Regions from separate parts of the Homo sapiens genome. Here all the other regions are linked to region 4. The links are contacts of gene promoters, found by promoter capture Hi-C in blood cells and fetal thymus (Javierre and others, 2016). All regions are on one chromosome and are shown on one strand. The core of a region is centred on a gene start or on the middle of the fragment in contact, and the rest is flanking DNA. Distances in the headings are between cores, read along the strand shown.

Region 1 (4,673 bases), core at 1,534-4,033, 3.8 Mb before region 4:
AAGGCCATGAGATGATAGGTGAATGGACAGTAGCTGCGTTCAAGAATTTATCTCATTCTGAGAATTATTGAGTTCCAATCATTTCACAACCTCTTACTAGCCTAGACTATCTATTGTTTTGATTTTCTTTTCTTTCAGGAAATTTTATGACTTATCTAAATGCAATTTTCTTTTTACTATTTGCCCTTTTTCTGTTTTCTTTAGACTTGGAGATGGAAAATGATGACCACAGTAGACTTTTTTCCTCAGGTCCAACCTTTCTTTAATTTTTCTCCAAATTTTTAGTATAGTCCTTTGTCCACAAAATTGCAATTTAAGTTCTTGTCTTCTACCCTCCATTGTTATTTTTGTTTTTCTCTGGGCTTTTTCCAACTCTTGATGTGGAAAATGTAAGCATGAACATTTCACTGGAAATATGACTTCCTTACTCATTTAAGCCTGTGAACAAGCAATATTTGGGGATTCCCTCCTTACCATACATAAAGGATTCTATTTTTCCATACTCATCCTGAGACCAAGCAGTACTGGCTGTTTTTGTTTCAAAAGTTTTAGCAAGTCCTTTCTTTCATTCTTGATAGCATATCCTCTGTTTGGCAGAACACAAGACATCTTTTCTCTCTGTTTTCTTTGGCAAGTTATTTCCTTATCTCAAATTTTTTTACCCAGTTTGAGAGATTGGATTTTATCCAGGACATAAGCATTCTGTTTCCCTTCAACAGAGTATCTTGAAGTTTGTAAGCGCTGTTAAGAAGACTAGGGGTTTTATCTTAATATACATATAAAATGCATATGCTAGAAATACCAGCTTTCAGAGCTTGTAGACCACCAACCTATTTTGAAGACAGGAAAGAGTAGTGGGAGAGGGCTGTGAAAAAAAGCTTTATTACGGTGTATATGAATATAACAAAAAAAAGGCAATTCTTACATTTAATTTCTTCCATTTGACTCTCCTTACCTCAACTAGCATCTATTCTAGTACTTCATTTTCTTCTTTCTTTGGTATGATCTTTTAAGGTAAAGCCCTCATTTTAACAGAAAACATTAGGGTAGCTTATTATGGAAATGAGAGCATATTTTCAGATACATTCCTGCTGTTATCCTTATGGGTACTTTGCAAGCTTCTCTTGTTACGGTTCTTTGTTATATATTTTTCTTCTTTACAAATGTCATTGTTTATGTACTGTTAAAAGTCCTCTGAAACACCCTATTCCCCTTGCTAATGTTAATAATTTAAAATGTAGTGACACCCTTTACTGTGGGGGAATATAAAGGTGGCTGAAAGCACACGGCATTCAGCAGCCATTGTAGCCATAATTGCTGCTTGGCTATGGCAGAACTGATTTTATAGAGACAGAACAACAGCAAATCTGAATACTGCAAATCTGGATTTGCAGAAAAAGTGCAGGGGCAATGAGTGCTACTTCTCCCATGCAACCTCCAGAAATGTCATGTGTCTAAAATGTTCGTCTTGTAAAATATCTGCACATTTTTATGTAAATGTTGCATATGGCAATGCTTACAAGAATTTATTCTAGTACATGTTATCCCAAGTTAAATGTTAATTGTTTTCTTTTTCATCAACTAAATTCTGAAAAGTAAGCTAGCACACCATTTTTTTTCTGCCTCTCCTTTTTAAATTCATTTTAACTACAAACCTCTTTGGGGCTTTCTTTTTTAGGAATAAATAGTTTATTTACAAATCATTCTGATTTCTTATTGAAGTTAGTGGAAAATTGAACACTTATTCATGCTACAAAATTACCAGTGATAGTTACTACCATTATATGTCCTAGTCTCCAAATACCTAGTACTTACCTGTAATCAAGAAATGATTTGAAGAGCTAAGTATGTTATAGTTCCCAGGATGCTGCTTATGGTTTTCTGGCTGCTCTTTAACTTTAATGAATATTCAATGGCTTATTATTATTCCAAATGAGAGAGAACAACATTGATTTCTTTATTGTAATGTTCTCAAGGTCAATCTACATTATAAATGAGTAGGCAGGCTGGATACTTGGGAAAATTTGAAGATGCCACATGTCCCCATTACCACATTGAAATTATTGGGGTCAAGGATATGGTCTCTGCTACCATGTAACATTTTTAAAATCAATTTTTATTTTTATACAAATGATAAATGCACATAATTTAAAAAATCAAATAGTAGTACAAAACTTAAAACAGCATAAAACAGAAGTTACATTCTTGGACCACTTTAACTTTGTTGGATTTTACCCCCCTCAATAATTTGCTTAAATTTTATTTCTTTTATTTCTTCTATATTAAGAACTATAAAGTCCTTCCTCATATTATTTTCCACATAATCAAGTGTATCAGGAATCTATTAGACTCACTAATTTTAATCAAAGACCTGTCTCCCAAAGCCATCCATCATCCCATATTAATCTGTACTGTTGCTACATGGCTATTGTCTGGAATTTTATTGAGTTACTATCCTGGGATTTCCCTTTATCTTTCTGTATTAGACCCTCTGTTTCTTGGAACCTATGTCATCCATCTTGATGTACTCCCTTGTTTTGATAGTGTATATCCTTTAGTGGCTTCCTAAGAAAAAGTGCATAGATAGTAAAATTTTGAGACCTTGCATAGCTGATAGTTTTATTCTAATCTCACTCTTGGTTGATTAGTTTAACAGGGTAGAAAATTTCAGGTTGAATACCAGTTTTCTTCAGTATTTGAAGGTGTTATTTTATTGATTTCGAACTTTCAACATTGCTGTTGAAATCTGAAGTTATTCTGATTCTGATCTTTTGTATATAAGTCTTTATGACCTCTAAAAGTTTTCAGAATTCTGTTTGTTTATGGAATTCTGAAAGTTGATGATGTACCATAGTGGAATACTTTTACATTTATTGTACTGGGTATTCCAAAGGCCCTTTTTATCCAAAAACTCATGTCTTTTAGTGCTGGAAATTTTTCTTTTGTTATTTTCATATTTTTCTTCCCCTTTTTTCTCTTTTCGCTTTCTGGAATGCCTGTTGGTCAAATGTCAGATTTTCTGACTCATTCTATACAATTAGAAAGCACACCCAAGTTTCACTGTGGAACTACTCCAGTGAGCCCTTCAGTGTGGTCATCTCTGGGCAGAGATACTATAGATTTACTGCTAACATTGGGAATTGGAAACTAGAATCTCTTCTGAGATTCTAAAAGCAGGGTGTTTCTGCTGCCATCCTTGCTGCCCTTTGCCACATGCTTCTTCACTTTATGTGTTTTCAAATCACAGTTGCCCATGGGTGTGTCTGATGAGGGAAAGGTCACATACCTGTACCCTAGCTGCAAAAGAGCTGGAGATTTCAGGCTCGTTGTTAAGGGTCTGCGGATTCATAAGGTCAGAAATTCCATGAACACAGAAAAAGTATTCAAAAGGTACTCAGCAGCTAGTGAATTCAACTGGGGACAGTTGGAACTTCAGGATGTTTGATGACTGGGGAGAGGGTCTTTGTTAAGAAAAAGCAATAATATGAAATATTAATGCTTTCCAATTTTATCAAGATGATAGCATTTTTGTGTACTGAATTACATGCATATTACATACATAATAAAATTGTAAAACTCTGTATCTAGGAAGTAAATAGTCTTTATTTATTTTTGCCTCCATACAAAGTCTTTAATAAGAACTGTGTTTTTCCCCCACATTAACTAGGTTACTTGTCCTTAGAAAGTTGGTAATGGTTGAATGGGTTAGTACTATATGTTCATACACGTTGATATCATTTATCTATAAATAGCTATTTAGCTGATTCATTAAAGCAAATTGAAGTAAGTCATTTTGATATAATAAATTGTCAAAGTCAGTGATATGCAGGCTTTTCATTTGTAAATTGTAATTACTTTTTAAATGTTTGTCTCCTACATTAGCCTCAAAGCTCTCTAAGAGCTGGTATCATGTCTTATTCATCTTTGTATCTTTTTAGTCTTAACATTGAACCTATACATTATTCAACGTATATTTGTAGATCAAATGACCACCTTTGATTCAAATAAAAACATATGAATTTTTATCAGGTACAAAGATAGTTACACAGGATCTGAGATCAAATAAAGAGAAACCACAGTCTTGCCCAAACTCTTCCACACAGTACTAAGCATGTGGTATTCTGAGAGCACCTGGAGAGAAAACACAATACATAAGAAACTGCACACAACCTAATGGTAGCAGGAGCAGGGCTTGTGACAACAGCAATAGAAAGGAATGACCTCCACTTGAGATGACCCAGCAACCTAATTCAAGTCCAGAGGATAAAGTGATTTTTTTTTTTTCCTCCTGAGTGAGCTCAGGTGTCCAGGGGCCTAGTCTGAGAAAAGAAATGTGTGTCATATTTTAGGGATTTGGGGGAATAATAGTTTTTAGCATGAAGTGATTGCAAAAACACTAAGTCAAGGCTTCACTTGGTCTTAGAAAGCAACTCTGGAAGCATATGGAAGCAAGCTTAGTATCCAGGAGCGTTGGAAACTAAAGTGAAAATAACCAGGACAAAAAATAGGCTGGCATCCCAATGGACTGGGGGAGACTGGCCAGCAGTTCTCATAGCAGCATTAGCATCACATGTTAGAAATGCACATTCTCAGGCCCCACTCTTGACCCACTGAACCTGAAACTCTGGGGATAGGACTCATCAGTCTATGTTTTAAGAAGCCCTCCTGGTGAT
Region 2 (5,033 bases), core at 453-2,952, 4.0 Mb before region 4:
AGAGAAAGGAAGGAATCAAAGATGATTTCAAGTTTCTGACCTGAGTCAAAATAATTGAGCTGCCATTAATTGAGATGAGCAAGACTGAGAGAAGAGCAGGTTTTAGGCAGAAGATCAGGAACCCCATTTTGGACATGTTAAGTTTGGGTTGCCTGTCTGACACATACAAATAGAGATGCCCACTAAGCAATTAAATATTCAGGACTTTTATAAAGGAAGAGGTCAGTGCTTTACATGGAAATCTGTTGTCAGTGTATAGGTGGTATTTAAAACCGTTCTCTATTTGGATTTGCTCTCTCTTGGTGACAGAGTACAGGTCCAAAAGAAAAGGTCCAAGAACTAAATCCTGACTAACTCAAATTTTAAAAGTGGGCATAAGAGAAATAACCAGAAAAAGAGAAAGCCAAAGAGTAGGGGGAAAAAATCAGGAGACTGGGGGAGTCCTGAAGCCCAGTAAAGAAAGCGCATGATGGAAAAAGTGTCAAATGTGTCAAAAAAAAAAAAACGCTGCTATTAGGTCAATGAAGGTGAGAAACATAAGCTGACCATTGGATTTGGCAACATGGAGATAACTGGTGAACTTGAAAAGAGCGTGATGGAAAAAGTGTCAAATGTGTCAAAAAACGCTGCTATTAGGTCAATGAAGGTGAGAAATATGAGCTGACCATTGGATTTGGCAGCATGGAGATAATTGGTGAACTTGAAAAACGCCAAGGGTGACTGAGTGCATTCAAGGGTGAATAAGAAAGAAATTGGAGAAAATAGAGATAACTCTTTTGAGTTATCTGTAAAGTGAAGCAAAGAAATGGTGTGATTATAGAAGGGACAAGAAGAATAAAAAAATTTTGTGGGTTTTTTTGATGAAAACATTCGTGAATACAGATGGAAAAGACCTAACAGAAGGAAAAGGGGGCAGTACCTTTAGTAAGCCTAAATATATGTAATCCAACGCACCTAAGCAGAAACGGTAAGGCAAGGAGAAAAGATGGAAAACGGAGATATAAATTTGAGATGGCGCTGACAGAAGCAAGCACAAGTGAAGCCATGAAAATGTCAAGGAAAAAGTCAACAAGAAAACTGGCTTAATAAAGAGGTCATGGCAAAAATAAATAAAAATGTGACATCGGATCAACGAAGTAGGTGGACAGCGCCCGTGTCTCAAGAGCTCACGCGGCTTGTAATTAAGGGCTTGAAACATCTGTATCCCGTTAACCCTGCAATAAGCAAAGTGACAGGAATTTAGTCTTCCTTGGGAATTCAAGAACGAAGAAAGAACAAAGGTACATACCTCGTGAGGAGTATTGCACACAGCCAATCCCACAAGGCCAGTGGTCTGTTCAAAAACAAAACACGATTCATGCTGTTTACTACGGTTTCCATACATCCAGCACGCTAAGGAAATACAAAACCACGAATCCCCCGGCTAAAACTGGTCTAAAGCCAGCTACTGGTCTCTCAGTCTCGCTTGTTTGGAGCTTTTTTCCTGACTCTCGGAGCGGAACCACTAACCTGCCCTACCCGGTAAGGCATGCAGAACGAGTCCCCGAAAAGCACCGCCGAGCCCGCGACAGTAGGGGTCAACACCCGCGGGAAGTAGGGCTATCGGACTGAGTCTACCCCCACAGTCTAAATTCCAACAGTGACCTCCATTCGTCTCACCTTCTTCAGCACACCCGCCATGACAGCGCCAACGACTCGGTGACGCACAACCCTTTGGGAACAATTCTCAGACCTGCTCAATCGACCACCGAGGTCGCCACTCTGTCACCCTGGAAACAGCTTAGCTCCACCCCTTCAGGATCGCCAAAGGAGCAAAGACTCTGCCCCGCCCATCTTAAAAGAGAAAAATTGACGCATGCGCGATGGGCATACAAGCCTAAAGCTAAGCTAGAAGACGATTGGGGAAAGAAAGGGTTTCCCAGCTGTCTGTTCCTGTTCCTGCCACTGCTGACGGCTTGCCCAAAGATTGAGGGAAACACTCCCAACTACCAAAAAACTCCAGTCGCTGTAGGAACCTGCACTGTGCTTAACCGTTGATGCATTCCTCAACCTTCCTTTCTCAGTTTAGTAAAATGAAAGTGATAACGGAGCTTGAGCATCCTCTGAATTGATCTCTCAACAGCAAGTTAGTTCTTCGCACAAGGATATCAGTATTCTCTGTGTCTTACGAACCAAAGCCCTATGGAGTGTGAGGTCATTTTCCATCGCTCTTTTCGATTTCACTGGCTGAAATACATCATCTTATTTCCAGATGAAATGATATCAGACCATACCACTTTTTCCTACCTCCACAAACACTGACCACTCACTATGTGTCAGTTACTGGGACATAATTTCTAAAATGGGATTTCACATCCTGGAATTCAAAGAATAATGAAGAAGGCGTGTATTAATAAATAATTTGGTAACTGTTCTAAAAGAAGTTGATGCAAAGTGTGATGGTACCAGGGAAAAGGAAATAACTAAAAAGCGTGGGTGACTTTCTAAAAAGTCAGTAGGAGAAAAGAACAAATTGAGAAAACACAAGTACAAAGGAAAAGAGGTTAAAAATGTATATATAAATTCCAGGTGATTTTATGTGATTGGAAAGGTGGGTTTGATTGTTAAGGTAAACTGGTTAAGATTATGAAAGGTGTTGTTTGCCATTATACAAAATTTGAATTTTACTTTTTAAGGAATGGGAACAATGAGAAGACTTTTAAGCTTCTAAGTGACACCATCAAATTTATGTTTCAGATATACAAACAACTTAGGCAACAGTTGAAGAGAATGAGTTGGAAGAGATGAGGCCTTTCATTAGAGGCATGAGACTAGAAAAAATGAAAGCTAAACCAAAAGCAAACAGAAGAAAGGAAATATTAAAGATTAGAAAAGAAGGAGACAGAATATCAATAAAGAAAATCAATGAAACCAGGAATTGGTTCCCTAAAAGGATCAACAAAATTGGCAAACCTTTAGTGAAACTAAGAAAAAAAAGAGAGAAGATTTAATACAAGCAAGAATAAAAGAACCATCACTAATAGCCTTGCTGAAATAAACAGGAATAAGAAGGAATACTATGAACAACTATGCTTAAAAAAGATAAAGTAGATAAAATGGCCAGATTCCTAGAAAAACACAAACTACCTAAATCAACTCAAGAAGGCATAAAGAAAAATCTGACTAGATCTAACATAATTAAAGAAATTGAATTAGCAAGAAAAAAAAAAAAACCTATCCAGAAGGAAAAGCACAGGTCCAGATGGCTTCGCTGGTAAATTCCACTGAACAATTAAAGAATAACACTTAAGAAACTATTCCAAAATATAGAAGAGGAGGAAACAATTAACAACTAATTCTATAAGGCAAGTATTACTCTGATTCCAACCAGACAAAGAAATCAACAAGAAACAAAAACTTCAGCCAGGTGTGGACTCTGATTCCAACCAGACAAAGAAATCAACAAGAAAAGAAAACTTCGGCTGGGCCTGGTGGCTCATGCCTGTAATCCCAGCACTTTGGGAAGCTGAGGCAGGAGGATCACCTGAGGTCAAGGGTTTGAGACAGCCTGGCCAACATGACAAAACCTTCTCTCTACTAAAAATACAAAAATTAGCCAGGCCTTGTGGTGTGTGCCTGTAATCTCAGCTACTCTGGAGGCTGAGACAGGAGAATCACTCAAACTCAGGAGGCAGAGGTTGCAGTGAGCCAAGATTGGGCCATTGCACTCTAGCCTGGGTGACAGAGCAAGATTCCGTCTCACAAAAAAAAAAAAAAAAAAGGAAAGAAAAAAGAAAATAAAACTTCAGGCCAATATCCCTTATTAATAAACACAAAATACTCAGAAAAGTACTAGCAAACCAAATTCAGTAGCATATGAAAAAAAAATTATACACCACAAATAAATGATATTTATTTCAAAAATACAAAGTTGGTTTAACATCCCCAAATCAATTAATCTAATGTACCATTGAATACAGGACAAAAACTATATGATAATTTTAATAGATGCAGAAAAAGCATTGGACAAATTTCAACATGCTTTCATGATAAAAGCACACAACAAGCTGGGAAAAGAAGAGAAATTTTTCAACCTGATAAAGATGCTTAGAAAAACCCCACAACATCATACTTAAGAGTGAAAGGCAATTCTTTTCTGCTAAGATCATTCACAAGACAAATATTTTTCCACTCTCACCACTTCTATCCAACAATATATTGGAAATATTAGCTAAGGGAATTAGGCAAGAAAATAAAATGAATAAAAGTCATCCAGAAGAGACAGGAAAAAGTAAAACTATCTCTATTCACAGTTGCATAATCTTTTATATAGGATTATTAAGGAATACACACATACATACAATTAAAACAAATAACTTCAGCAAAGTTACATTATACGTGATCTATCAGGGTCAGCTCAGGCTGCCATAACAAAATACTATGGATGAGGTGGCTTAAACAACAGAAATGTATTTCTCACAGTTCTGAAGGCTGATAAGTTTAAGACCAAAGCCAGCAAGACAGATTTCATTCTGAGGCTTTTTCTTTTGGCTTATACTGGTTACCCTCTCATGGTATGCTCATATTTACCTCTTTTCGTGTGTGCTTGGGGTTGGGTCAGGGTGGAGAGCAAGATCTCTGGTGTCCCTTTTTATAAGGCCACTGTTACCATCATGACCTCATCTAAACCTAATTATCTCCCAAAGATTCCATCTCCAAATACCATTTTATTGAGGTTTAGAGCTGTAATATATGAAATCTGGGGGACATAGTCCATAGCAATCAATATACAAAAATATGCTCTAGTCTATTATAGCAATGAATAATCTGAAAATAAATTAAGAAAACAATTCTATTTACCATAGCATCAAAAAGAAATAAATCTAACAAAATAAGTGTAACACTTGTACACTGAAAAGTATTAAATATTGTTGGAAATACTAAAGATCTAAATAAATAGACATTTCTTATTTAATGATTTGAAGTCAATATTGGTCAGATGGCAATACTCAAGTTGATGTAGCGTTTCATCACAATTCCTATCAAAATCCCAG
Region 3 (5,016 bases), core at 57-2,556, 4.1 Mb before region 4:
AGAATGGACAAGTCAAAGGGCATACAGATCTTAATTTTGTTAAATTCCATCAAACTGTTTTCTATTATAGCCCCAAGAAGTTCCCCTTGACTGTTTCCTTACATCCTCATATTGTTTTATGAGTCCTAATAATTAAATATCCCTTTGTTGTGTGTTGCCCTTATATTTCCCATTGTATGTTTGATGTTGTTTTTCTCTTACTATATAAAAGTTTTAGATTGTTAGGTAGTGACATTTATCAATCTTTTTGCTTATGAGAGTTTCCAAATTTCCTGACATGCTTCGAAACACCTTCTCACAATGAAACATAAATACATAAATTCATCCATAAATGCATAAATGAGACAGATCTGTAAATATTGATAGAAAACAACTGGACACACAGTCTTAAGTGTAAAAGCCAATCACAGAAGAGTATGCACAATGTTACAGGTGTAACTACATATTTGCGTATGTCTAAAACACCTGTGGAAGGTGGCCTGGAGATGGGGAGAAATGGGTAGATGGAGGATTTTCACTCTTCATTCTTTTTACTATTCGAACTATTTTTTTATGTATTATCTATTCAAATGAAAATGTTTAAATCTTATTGTTTAAAAAGCAACCTCTATCATGTTTGCATACAAAAAAGTCTCCCTTTTCACCTACATTTCATTCCCTACCATTTAAAGCTTAACACATTTAGAATGTAGTATAATTAGTGAGGCAGGGATCCAGTATTGCCTTCTACCAAATAGATCTGTTGAATTTTTAGGTTTGTTAAGAGGCAAAGACCAAGGGTGGAGAGGAAGGAGTGAGAGTGCCAGGTGAGGAAAGTCTAAAATCTCTCGACTTAATATGAGAATGGTGGCCACGGAAGGCTAAGAGTCTCTAGTGCCAGGTGTGGGTTATACACACATCTTCTATGCAATTACCGTGACAAGCACCCAGGGTGTGAGGTGAGGTGTACCTCCTAGCTTGATGCTGCTGGTTCAAGTCCCAAATCAGAGAGGGGAAGCCAAAAAAGGAGCCGAGAAAGATGAGATGCTTCGCACGGTTTTTAAAGTAAAGTCGGAACATTCCTGACCGACTAGGCAGCCCCAGGCGCTCAGGTGGGAATCACTGCCCAGCACACAGAACCCAGAGTCCAGCGCGGCTGTCACCGGCTCTAGGCTGGATCTAAGCGTCGGACCAGGAGGCCGCAGTCAAAATCTGTTCTCCTACCTGTGTACGAAACCAAACTATTCTCGTCGAAGTGCTTTCCCAGGCTCCTAAGACGCAGCTTCCATACTCGCCGCGTTCTCAGCTGTTGGTCGTATCCTAGCAACGGCCCTGGCACCACCTCTTCCTGCCGGAGCACGGCAGGGGTGGGAAGGAGAGGAGCCAGAGGCGGGTGGGGGGGAGGAGCCAGAAGAGGGCAGCGGGGAGGGGCCGGGAAGGAGGAGCGCGGCAGGGTAGGGGGAGGAGCCAAAGACTGGGGGCGGGGCCGGGAAGGAGGAGGGCGGCAGAAGAGAAGGGGATGAGCCAGAGGCGGGGAGGTGGGGCCGGGAAGGAGGAGTGCGGCAGGAGAGAAGAGGAGTAGCCAGAGGCGGAGGGGCGGTGTCGGGAAGGAGGAGCGCGGCAGGAAATAAGGGAAGGAGCTAGAGGCGGGCTGGGGGCCGGGGTCTGGAAGGAGGATCGCGGTAGGGAAGAAGAGGAGCCAGAGGAGGGGGATGGGGGCTGCAAAGGAGGAACGCGATAGGGAAAAGGGGGAGGAGCCAGAGGCGAGGGGGCGGGGAGAAGAAACATGGCAGGAGAAAGGGGAGGAGCCAGAGGCGAAGAGACAGGAAGAGGGACGCGTCAGGGAGAAGGGGAGGAGTCAGAGGCGAGCGGGCGTGGAGGAGGGAAGCGGCAGGGAGAAGGGGCGGGGCCAGAGGCGAAGGGGCGGGGAGGAGGGACGCGGCAGGGAGAAGGGGAGGAGCCAGAGGCGGAGGCTGTTACCAACTGGCTACCTAGATCCAAGTGAATCAGGACACTAACTTCTCTCCAAGATCTTTTACACTTGTGAAACGGCACAGCTCTCTAAACCAAACACTGACAGCAGTTTAATTTTACAGATATAAAAAAAATCCGAGTCAGAGAAATCATCACGATGAAGTCAGAGGCGAGAAACTGTCAGGTGCCTACTTGCTTTTGTTAAACTAACAACTTGGCTCTCAGCTTCCTGGCAGCCAAAGAGAAAAGGGAGATAGTAGCTATCAAATAATTCTGCTTAGAAGAACTTTTGTTAATCACTAAATTAGTTAATAAACTAAATTTTGTCTAACAACAAATTCTTTTTTTTTTTTTTTTTTCTAGTGTATACAGAGTCTTGCTCTGTCGCCCAGGTTGAAGTGCAGTGGTTCGATCTCGGCTCAATGCAACCTCTACCTCCCTGGCTCCCGCGATTCTCCTGCCTCAGCCTCCTGAGTAGCTGAGATTACAGGCGCCCGCCACCACCCCCGGCTAATTTTGGTATTTTTAGTAGAGATGGGGTTTCACCATGTTGGCCAGGCTGATCTGGAACTCCTAGCCTCAAGCAATCCGCCTTCAAAAGTGTTGGGGATTACAGGAGTGAGCCACCGCGCCCGGCCTATCAATGAATAAGAAAACTTTTAAAGAACCACAGGATAGTATTGGAGGTCAAGTCAAGTATGTTCCTCTTGGAAATTTAGTAACAAACTACATGTTGCTATCTCATAATAGCAGCTAACATTTATGAAGTATTCATTGTCATGAGGCACCGTACATAGATTTCTAATTTAATCCTTACAACGATTTTATTAGGGAGAAACTGCTATTAGACCCATTTTGTAAATGAGAAAACTAAGGCACACAAAGTTTAATGAGGGAACCAGGATTAAACCTAAGCAATCTAACTCCAGGTCCCAGATTTTTTAACCATTACAGTACTGTTTAATTTGATTTGATATGTTAAAAGGATTAATAAAATTAATACAGGTCCATTCCCTTATTCATAAATGTTCATTGTCTTCATTTATTTCTTTATACTGTTCTGCTGAAATTGCACTCTCATCTCCCCAATAACTTTGTAATATCCAATGCCATTTTTTTCAGTCATCCCATTTTAAAATATATTTTTACTAGAATAGTGAAATATATATTCAGATAAAATTGGCTTTGTTTTAATAATGATCAGTAAAAGTAAATTCATTTTAATCATTTCCACACATTCATGAAAAGTAAAGGGGAAAAATGGGCATAGAGGTAACCACTAGAATTAGGCTTTCTTGGATGGGTAGACCAGGTGTGGAGGTGTGCAGATAAGATTTTACAAACACTCATACACTCCCATCTCCAAAATCATAATTTATCTTACATTCTGCTACTAATAAACATTCCACTGGTTTTAAACATTCACTTTGCTGGGTCTCCTCTTTAAAATTTGTCATTCACTGTTCTCAATGTTAGAGACGGTATGCAAACAGTAGGTTTAGGAATAGAGTCAGGAGATGGGGGAAGAAAAACTGGTAGGAGAGAACTTAAGTGTCTCACAGTGTTAAATGTGACTTGATAGCCACTATTCATTTTTTTTTGTAGTTTGCTGTGAGGATGACTTTATACAATTTAATCTTAAATAGGAACCTAACTTAGTTAGGCTTCCTTGGGTAGTCTGTGGAGCATGGAAAAGTTATTAGCATGTCAAAATCCTGTCCACGCACACATACACGCACATACACACAAATGTAGTTTGGTTACATAATAAATTTATATTCAAACTTAATGAAAACAACCAATAGGAAAAAGCTTCTCAATTCCAAAAGTGAAAGAGTAATTTTACAATACCATTTTCCATTTTCCTTTTCATGATAAATCTATGCATTTTCTCAGGATTTATTCCACCAAACGACTTCGTATTTCTCATGAAACATCTACCTTTATTCATCTCAGCATTTATTTATGTAATAAACATTTCTTTTGATGTGCTTTTATTTTTACAAAGATGCCACCTAGTGGCTTGATAAAATCAAGCATTTCAAAGTATCTCCTGTTGTTACTACAGGTTAAAATGAATAATGAATATTTTTAATATTAAAATAATTTAGAAAACTAAGGACCTGAAAATTTTTGTTTTGGAAATTATTTAGATTAAATTTGGATCATAATACCACTTTGTGAACTTGTTAAGAGAATGGAAATATAGGTCTATTGTCCCTTTTCTGAAACCTTTTAAGACAGATGTGTTTGATATTCACAATTTTTCAGATTTTTGAAAGGAAATATGGGCATATACTTTACATTATGTAACACATTAAGAGGGTCTGAGGAAGCAGTTTAGAATCAAATATATTGATACATCTGTGGCAAAATATATTCATATTCACATTGAAGTGCGATAAATACCACAAATAGCCTCATGTAATTCAGGTGGGGTTTGTTGCCAAATGAGTTATGAAAAAACTTTGTTTTCAGAGATTTTTGAAATTAGGAATTTAGATAAGGGACTTTGGACCTGTTTTACTCTGGTGAAAAATAATTCACCCTCCAGTTATAGAGAGATTAAAATGCCAATATTTTGTAAAAAAAAAAAAATAGTTATCTTTAGAAAACCTAATAGATTCACCTAAAAAAAAATTGAAGATCATGAGAAATACCAAAATAGAAATCTTTGCAATGCTTTTCATTTAATTATATACAGATGCCAATCATAAATTACATTTAAGTGTACCACAAAAAATTAGCTGCTAATGTAAACCTAAAGACCAATTTGAAAATTATTAGTGATGCATGGCAAGTTCAATTCATAAATTTTGTGGCACAGTCAAAAAAAAATTTAACCTTGGTTGTTTCTTTTTTTTTATTCCTATGTGTAATTTACCATGTTCCAATTCCCCACCACCACTATGGTCATGGAAATATATGTTGATGGTGCCACACTCAGCCTGGATTCCTTGTGGGTCTATGAGCACTCCTTGCCAACCCTCCTTAGACATGCAGTATGAATAAAAAATACACTTAAGACACTGGGATTTAAGGATAACCCATGCTAAGTCACTA
Region 4 (5,080 bases), core at 1,548-4,047:
TGGAAGTGACGTCAGCGAGGCGCCGCAGGCTCCGCCCCCAGTGGGCCCAAGGTAGGCGGGGCCAAGTCGGCCGGTGGGTGGGCGCGGCCTGTTGAGAACGCAGTGGGGCCGCGAGCGGCAAAAAACAGGCTTGGGAAAGGCGAAGCCAGCAAAGTCGAAGACACCAGAGTGGCACCGGTTTTGTGAGAGCGCCCAAGCTTGACCTCGGGCTACGCTCAGCGAGCGACAGAGCAACGTCGCACTGCATTCTTACCAAACACCCAGGTGAACGACGCATCCAACGATTTGGGAGCTCAGGACCCATGGTCCCTAAAAGGCAACAATTAAGACTCCCATTTAGACCACGAAAACTGCAGTCCTCTATAGCACAGTGCTTGGTACCTAGTAGGCATACAGCCTAATAGTACCCTTCCTTAGTTCTGCTGAGTTGATTCCACAAATATTTACGGAGGGCACTCTATAGCCATGTCTATCCTGAGTGCCAGCTATATACCAGGAGCTCACAAGAGTTTTGCTATTTAGTCTTTACAGTAATTCTTGTAAGCACTATACTCATTAGCACTATTTTACAGATATGAAAACATGAGGCAGAAAGGTTATACGTAACATGCCCAAGGTCACACAGCTAGTAAGTTTAGGAGTTCTAATCAGTCTGATTCTCAACGTATCACGTGCTGTGCCAGATGGTAACACCATTAAGAGACACGACCTTGCCCTCAGGGAGCTCGCAATCTAGTGAGGAACCAGACATACAAATATGTCCTGCTATCACACCAGTATGTCTGGGTATATTCAAAGTGGTATGAAAGTTAAGAGGAAAGAGGCCTGTCTAGGTGAGGCATGGAAGGCTCTTGGGAATAATACTTTGGGATTTGAAGGATGAGTCGTGATTGTCCACCTAACCAGAGATCAGGGAAACTAGCATTCCAGGCAGGTGGAAAAAAATGCAAAGACCTGTAGGGTATCGGAGTTTGACTCACCCAGAAAGCATTCAGTAGCTTAGGGTATGTGAAGGAGGTGACAACAGAGGGGCTGGCACAATAGGTAGGGACCCAACTTATGGCATTTAAATTTTATCTTGGGTTATAGTAAGGCCCTAATGGATTTTAATCTGAAAAGTGGGATGTCATCAAGACTTGTATGACATGTTGGAGGGAACAAGGGGCAGGAAACCTGTGAGGAGACTTTCAGTCATGGGGAACAGAAGGTAGTGACAACAGAGATGGAAGCAAAGAGGCTGATAAAAGAGCTAAATGTAGAATTGACCTAACTTGGTGAACACTAGTTCTGTTATTATATTGGAACTCTCTAAAATGTACTCTTCAGCCTCGTAAAAGCCTTCTTAGGGATGCAAGTCTATGACTGAAGAGAAAAGGAAAGTCATTCACTCACTCATACCTGTTTCCCAAAGTCTGTCCTTGTTACAGACTTTGCAGATCAGGATGGGGCAGGCCCTGGAGGTCTGTTCAGACCCCGTTTCTCAGTGGCCCAAATAACATCAAGCTGTATTATACATAACATTCAGTCACATTATCAAATCATTTTAAGATTCACCATAACCCCTTAAGTTAGAACAAGTCTCATTTTATAGATGATGAAATAACGGAAGAGTTATGAGGAGTGCTGAAGCCAAATCCTCAAGAAATGGCAGAATTAAGATTTGAACTAAAGCCTGAAATCACGTGCTGGCAAGTGGTGGGTGCTCAGTAAATATCTGCTGAAAAAGCAAATGAATGAGTGAAGGTTTTTTTATTCCCAGCTCAGTTTACCTCGAGTCCATAAACAATTGATCCTAGAAGCCCACTGGGAATCCAGAGTAGACATAACACCTACCCTCGCTCCATTGAGAATCTATCAGTCCAGTTCAACTGAACAAGCATTTGTTAGGCCTAATAATGCCTGGCAATGAGCCAGTCTCCACCGCAGAAGAATTTCATTCCTATTTTGCTATTCTCCTCTCAGATGTTAAAATGAGGCAGGGAAATGACATGTGAAGCTCTTTGGGTCTACGGAGTCAAGATCTTCACAAAATCCTGAATGGATGTGCAAGAATAAGCCAGGTCCACAAGTCTGTGGCAAAGTGAGGAACTTCGGCAAAGCGGCCAGCGCCTGGACTGAGAGGCGGGGCCCGCAGGGCGATCCAAACGAAGGTGGACTTCTCCAACAGCCCAGGAGTGGGTCTGTGACCCCGCCGCCCAAGGCCGGGAATCTTACACTGGTTCTGCGGATTGGGAATTAGGAAGTAGGCGTTTTGAGGAACCATGGAAGCTAGCTAGCACTCGGGCACCTTCCCCTACCTCCCGCGCACTCTTCACACGACCACCTACTACGCGCAAGTCCCTCGGTGGAAGATGAGGCAGTAAAGGGAGGACCAAGACCCCTAATCGCAGCTTCCACTCCCCAAAGGAGAGTGGTGCACACGTTCAGTGCTACTGGTTCCCAAGGGCTAAAACCGGAGCCCCTAGGGGCCTGGACGCAACAAACCAAAGCCCAGCGGCCGGCCACTGAAAATGGGGGCAGGGGCCGCTGCGGAGCGATGAATCCTTTCCTCAGCCGCGCTCGGGCTGCCGGTTCGGCGGCCACAGGCCTGGCAGGCGCGTTAGAGACCTAGACCCGTTCCCAAGTAAGGGCCGCACGGGACCCAGGCCAGCAGCGGCAACTCGCGGAGCTTCAGCTCCCCTAGGAGCCAGAGCCGGGGGAGGCGGGGCCGAGAGCCGGGGGCGGGGCCCGGACGGGGGCGGGCCCGCGGTGACGTCGGGAGGGCAGCGACGCGCGGAGGCGGCGGCGGAGCCTCCTCCTGCTGCTGCTGCGCCCCATCCCCCCGCGGCCGGCCAGTTCCAGCCCGCACCCCGCGTCGGTGCCCGCGCCCCTCCCCGGGCCCCGCCATGGGCCTCACCGTGTCCGCGCTCTTTTCGCGGATCTTCGGGAAGAAGCAGATGCGGATTCTCATGGGTGAGGCAGATCGAGCGCGCGGCCCGGACCGGGGCGCCGGCCCCGGCGCAGCCCTTCCGCCCCCGCGTCCCTCCAGCCCCGCTCACCTGGGTCTCTGGCCCCGAGTCACCCACCTCATAACGCCCCGGGGCCTCTGCTCTCGGGCGGGTCCCGGTCTGCATCGCCGACCCCGGGGCCTGACACCCGGAGCTGCGGGCCTGGGTGGGGTGAAGCTCCCTCCGCCCCAGCCCGGCTGGTAAGAAGGGAGGATTCCGCCCTTGGAGACGACTTTTAAAACGAGCGCGGCCTACCTCCCGTGCCCCTTGCCTCCCAGTCCTCTCCCGCTCCGCGCCCTCTTTGGAGTTGGCTCACGCCACCCGACTGCCCTCCAGGCCTCAAAGGTAGATAACGACGCGCACCTGGAGGCGCTCCCGCTCTCCGCCCCAGTCACCATCAGCTGTTGTGGCCTCTCCCTTTCCCTGGTCTCTAGGGGGCTCCCTCGCTCCCATCTCCATCCCTGTGCCCCTTTCCGTTGCAGTTGGCTTGGATGCGGCTGGCAAGACCACAATCCTGTACAAACTGAAGTTGGGGGAGATTGTCACCACCATCCCAACCATAGGTGAGCCCGGGGACGAAGCAGGGAGCGGGAGCGCCGCGGCGGGCCCTCGCGGGGTCTGCTCCCAGTTCTGCCACTTTTCTGGAGCTGACCCTGACACCAGATACAGCTATTTGAGAAGTGGGTCAGGGTATCTCTACGTGGATACCGGAGGCAGGGTGGATGTGACCTAGCCCCGCCCTGTTGACCGCCAGTTCTGGGGTTCTGTTCCCCTGGGCCTTGATCATTGCCTTCTGGTTTTGTGTCCCTGCTGAAATCTAAGTAGTTTTAGTGAGTTCCTTTCTTTCAGGAGTTTTCTCATCTTTTTTTTCCAATTATCTGCAGGCTTCAATGTAGAAACAGTGGAATATAAGAACATCTGTTTCACAGTCTGGGACGTGGGAGGCCAGGACAAGATTCGGCCTCTGTGGCGGCACTACTTCCAGAACACTCAGGTGGAGTGTTGGGAGGGGACTTTCTAACCCCACGGGAAAAGGTGTTAGGGCTGGGAGAACAGAATTGTTGGCCTAGGCTGGGCCCCCAGGCCAAGGAAAAAACCCTTCCCCACTTCTACCCCTTCTGTTTGGCTATCCCCTACTCACTCTTCAGAACTCACCTTAGTCTTCCCCAGCTTGGACTTCTCTTTAGAAGCAGGATTCTGGGACCAGGCTGCCTGATTTAGCCCTCATAACATGTCTTTATTTCCTTGCACATCTTTGGATAAACTACTTCCTCTTTGCAGTGGGGTCTCTAGTTTGTGCCATGACTCCTGTAGAGCTTCTATAGAGTTCTGTAAACTTCTGTAGAGTTTACTAGATGAGAAGGATTGACACAATTACAAATGGGAAGAAAACAGAAAGGGCCACACTACGGTATGTCCCAGGCAGAAGTGATTGCTTCTCCTTTCTTCCTTCCTTCCTGCCCAGGGCCTCATCTTTGTGGTGGACAGTAATGACCGGGAGCGGGTCCAAGAATCTGCTGATGAACTCCAGAAGATGGTGAGTACCCAGAGCCCTGGGAACTGAGCCCTCAGCTTGGGGACAGAGTGATCTCTGTAGTGGTATAGAAGTCAGGGAGCCCCCAACAGGCATTGAAGACCAGGAATATAAGTTTTTCTTTGTGGACAGACACATTGTGTATCTCACCCTGTTTTGGATGGGAGTGACTTTTTCACTTTTTCTGTGCATTGTCTTGTCTTTTTTTTTTTTTGAAATGGGAGTTTTGCTGTTGTTGCCCAGGCTGGAGTGCAATGGTGCAATCTCGGCTCACTGCAACCTCCGTCTCCCGGGTTCAAGCAATTCTCCTGCCTCAGCCTCCCAAGTAGCTGGGATTACAGGCGCCCGCTGCCATGCCCAGTTAATTTTTGTATTTTTAGTAGAGACGGGGTTTCACCATGTTGGCCAGGCTGGTCTTGAACCCCCAACCTCAGGTGATCCACCCGTCTTGGTCTCCCAAAGTGCTGGGATTACAGGAGTGAGCCACTGCGCCCGGCCGCATTCTCATGTCTTTACATCTGAGTCTGAGAAGTTGTGGGAGAGATGGGACTTATATGTG

Evidence for each region. Contacts are between HindIII fragments. The CHiCAGO score rates a contact against its expected background, and 5 or more counts as called.
Region 1: a fragment that was not itself captured here is called in contact with the fragment with the promoter of ARF5 in region 4 in 1 of 17 cell types (M0 macrophages); the score reaches 5.3 in M0 macrophages.
Region 2: a contact is called between the fragment with the promoter of NDUFA5 here and the fragment with the promoter of ARF5 in region 4, in 1 of 17 cell types (total CD4 T cells). The highest score is 7.6, in total CD4 T cells.
Region 3: the fragment with the promoter of IQUB here is called in contact with the fragment with the promoter of ARF5 in region 4 in 4 of 17 cell types (non-activated CD4 T cells, total CD4 T cells, total B cells and 1 more); the score reaches 12.2 in non-activated CD4 T cells.

What each region holds. Positions count from the first base shown.
Region 1 is chr7:123,751,425-123,756,097 of GRCh38, forward strand. No RefSeq gene overlaps it. Among named protein-coding and RNA genes, the nearest start is that of WASL-DT, 4.6 kb to the left of the region's middle. The HindIII fragment of the contact is 3,335 bases long and covers 1,117-4,451 here.
Region 2 is chr7:123,556,116-123,561,148 of GRCh38, forward strand. It overlaps NDUFA5 (NADH:ubiquinone oxidoreductase subunit A5), which reads right to left and starts at 1,703. Exons shown (of 5, transcript NM_005000.5): 1 at 1,660-1,703; 2 at 1,289-1,333. The coding sequence starts at 1,680. RefSeq lists enhancers at 833-1,411, 976-2,175, 1,412-1,990, 1,731-1,780, 2,041-2,180. The HindIII fragment of the contact is 10,047 bases long and covers 1-2,701 here.
Region 3 is chr7:123,533,289-123,538,304 of GRCh38, forward strand. It overlaps IQUB (IQ motif and ubiquitin domain containing), which reads right to left and starts at 1,307. Exons shown (of 13, transcript NM_178827.5): 1 at 1,204-1,307. LOC124901740 (a long non-coding RNA gene) reads left to right here and starts at 1,243. Exons shown (of 2, transcript XR_007060507.1): 1 at 1,243-2,137; 2 at 2,317-2,971. NDUFA5 (NADH:ubiquinone oxidoreductase subunit A5) reads right to left here. Exons shown (of 5, transcript NM_005000.5): 5 at 3,709-5,016. RefSeq lists silencers at 1,374-1,603, 1,624-1,773, 1,854-1,983 and an enhancer at 2,054-2,193. The HindIII fragment of the contact is 3,094 bases long and covers 670-3,763 here.
Region 4 is chr7:127,585,614-127,590,693 of GRCh38, forward strand. It overlaps ARF5 (ARF GTPase 5), which reads left to right and starts at 2,798. Exons shown (of 6, transcript NM_001662.4): 1 at 2,798-2,952; 2 at 3,470-3,550; 3 at 3,872-3,981; 4 at 4,453-4,524. The coding sequence starts at 2,886. LOC105375490 (a long non-coding RNA gene) reads right to left here and starts at 4,233. Exons shown (of 5, transcript XR_007060511.1): 1 at 4,143-4,233. It overlaps LOC105375489 (a long non-coding RNA gene), which reads right to left. Exons shown (of 3, transcript XR_007060513.1): 3 at 4,256-4,338. RefSeq lists enhancers at 1-331, 1,619-2,245, 2,246-2,871, 2,872-3,498, 3,499-4,124 and 1 more and a silencer at 2,635-3,124. The HindIII fragment of the contact is 7,240 bases long and covers 196-5,080 here.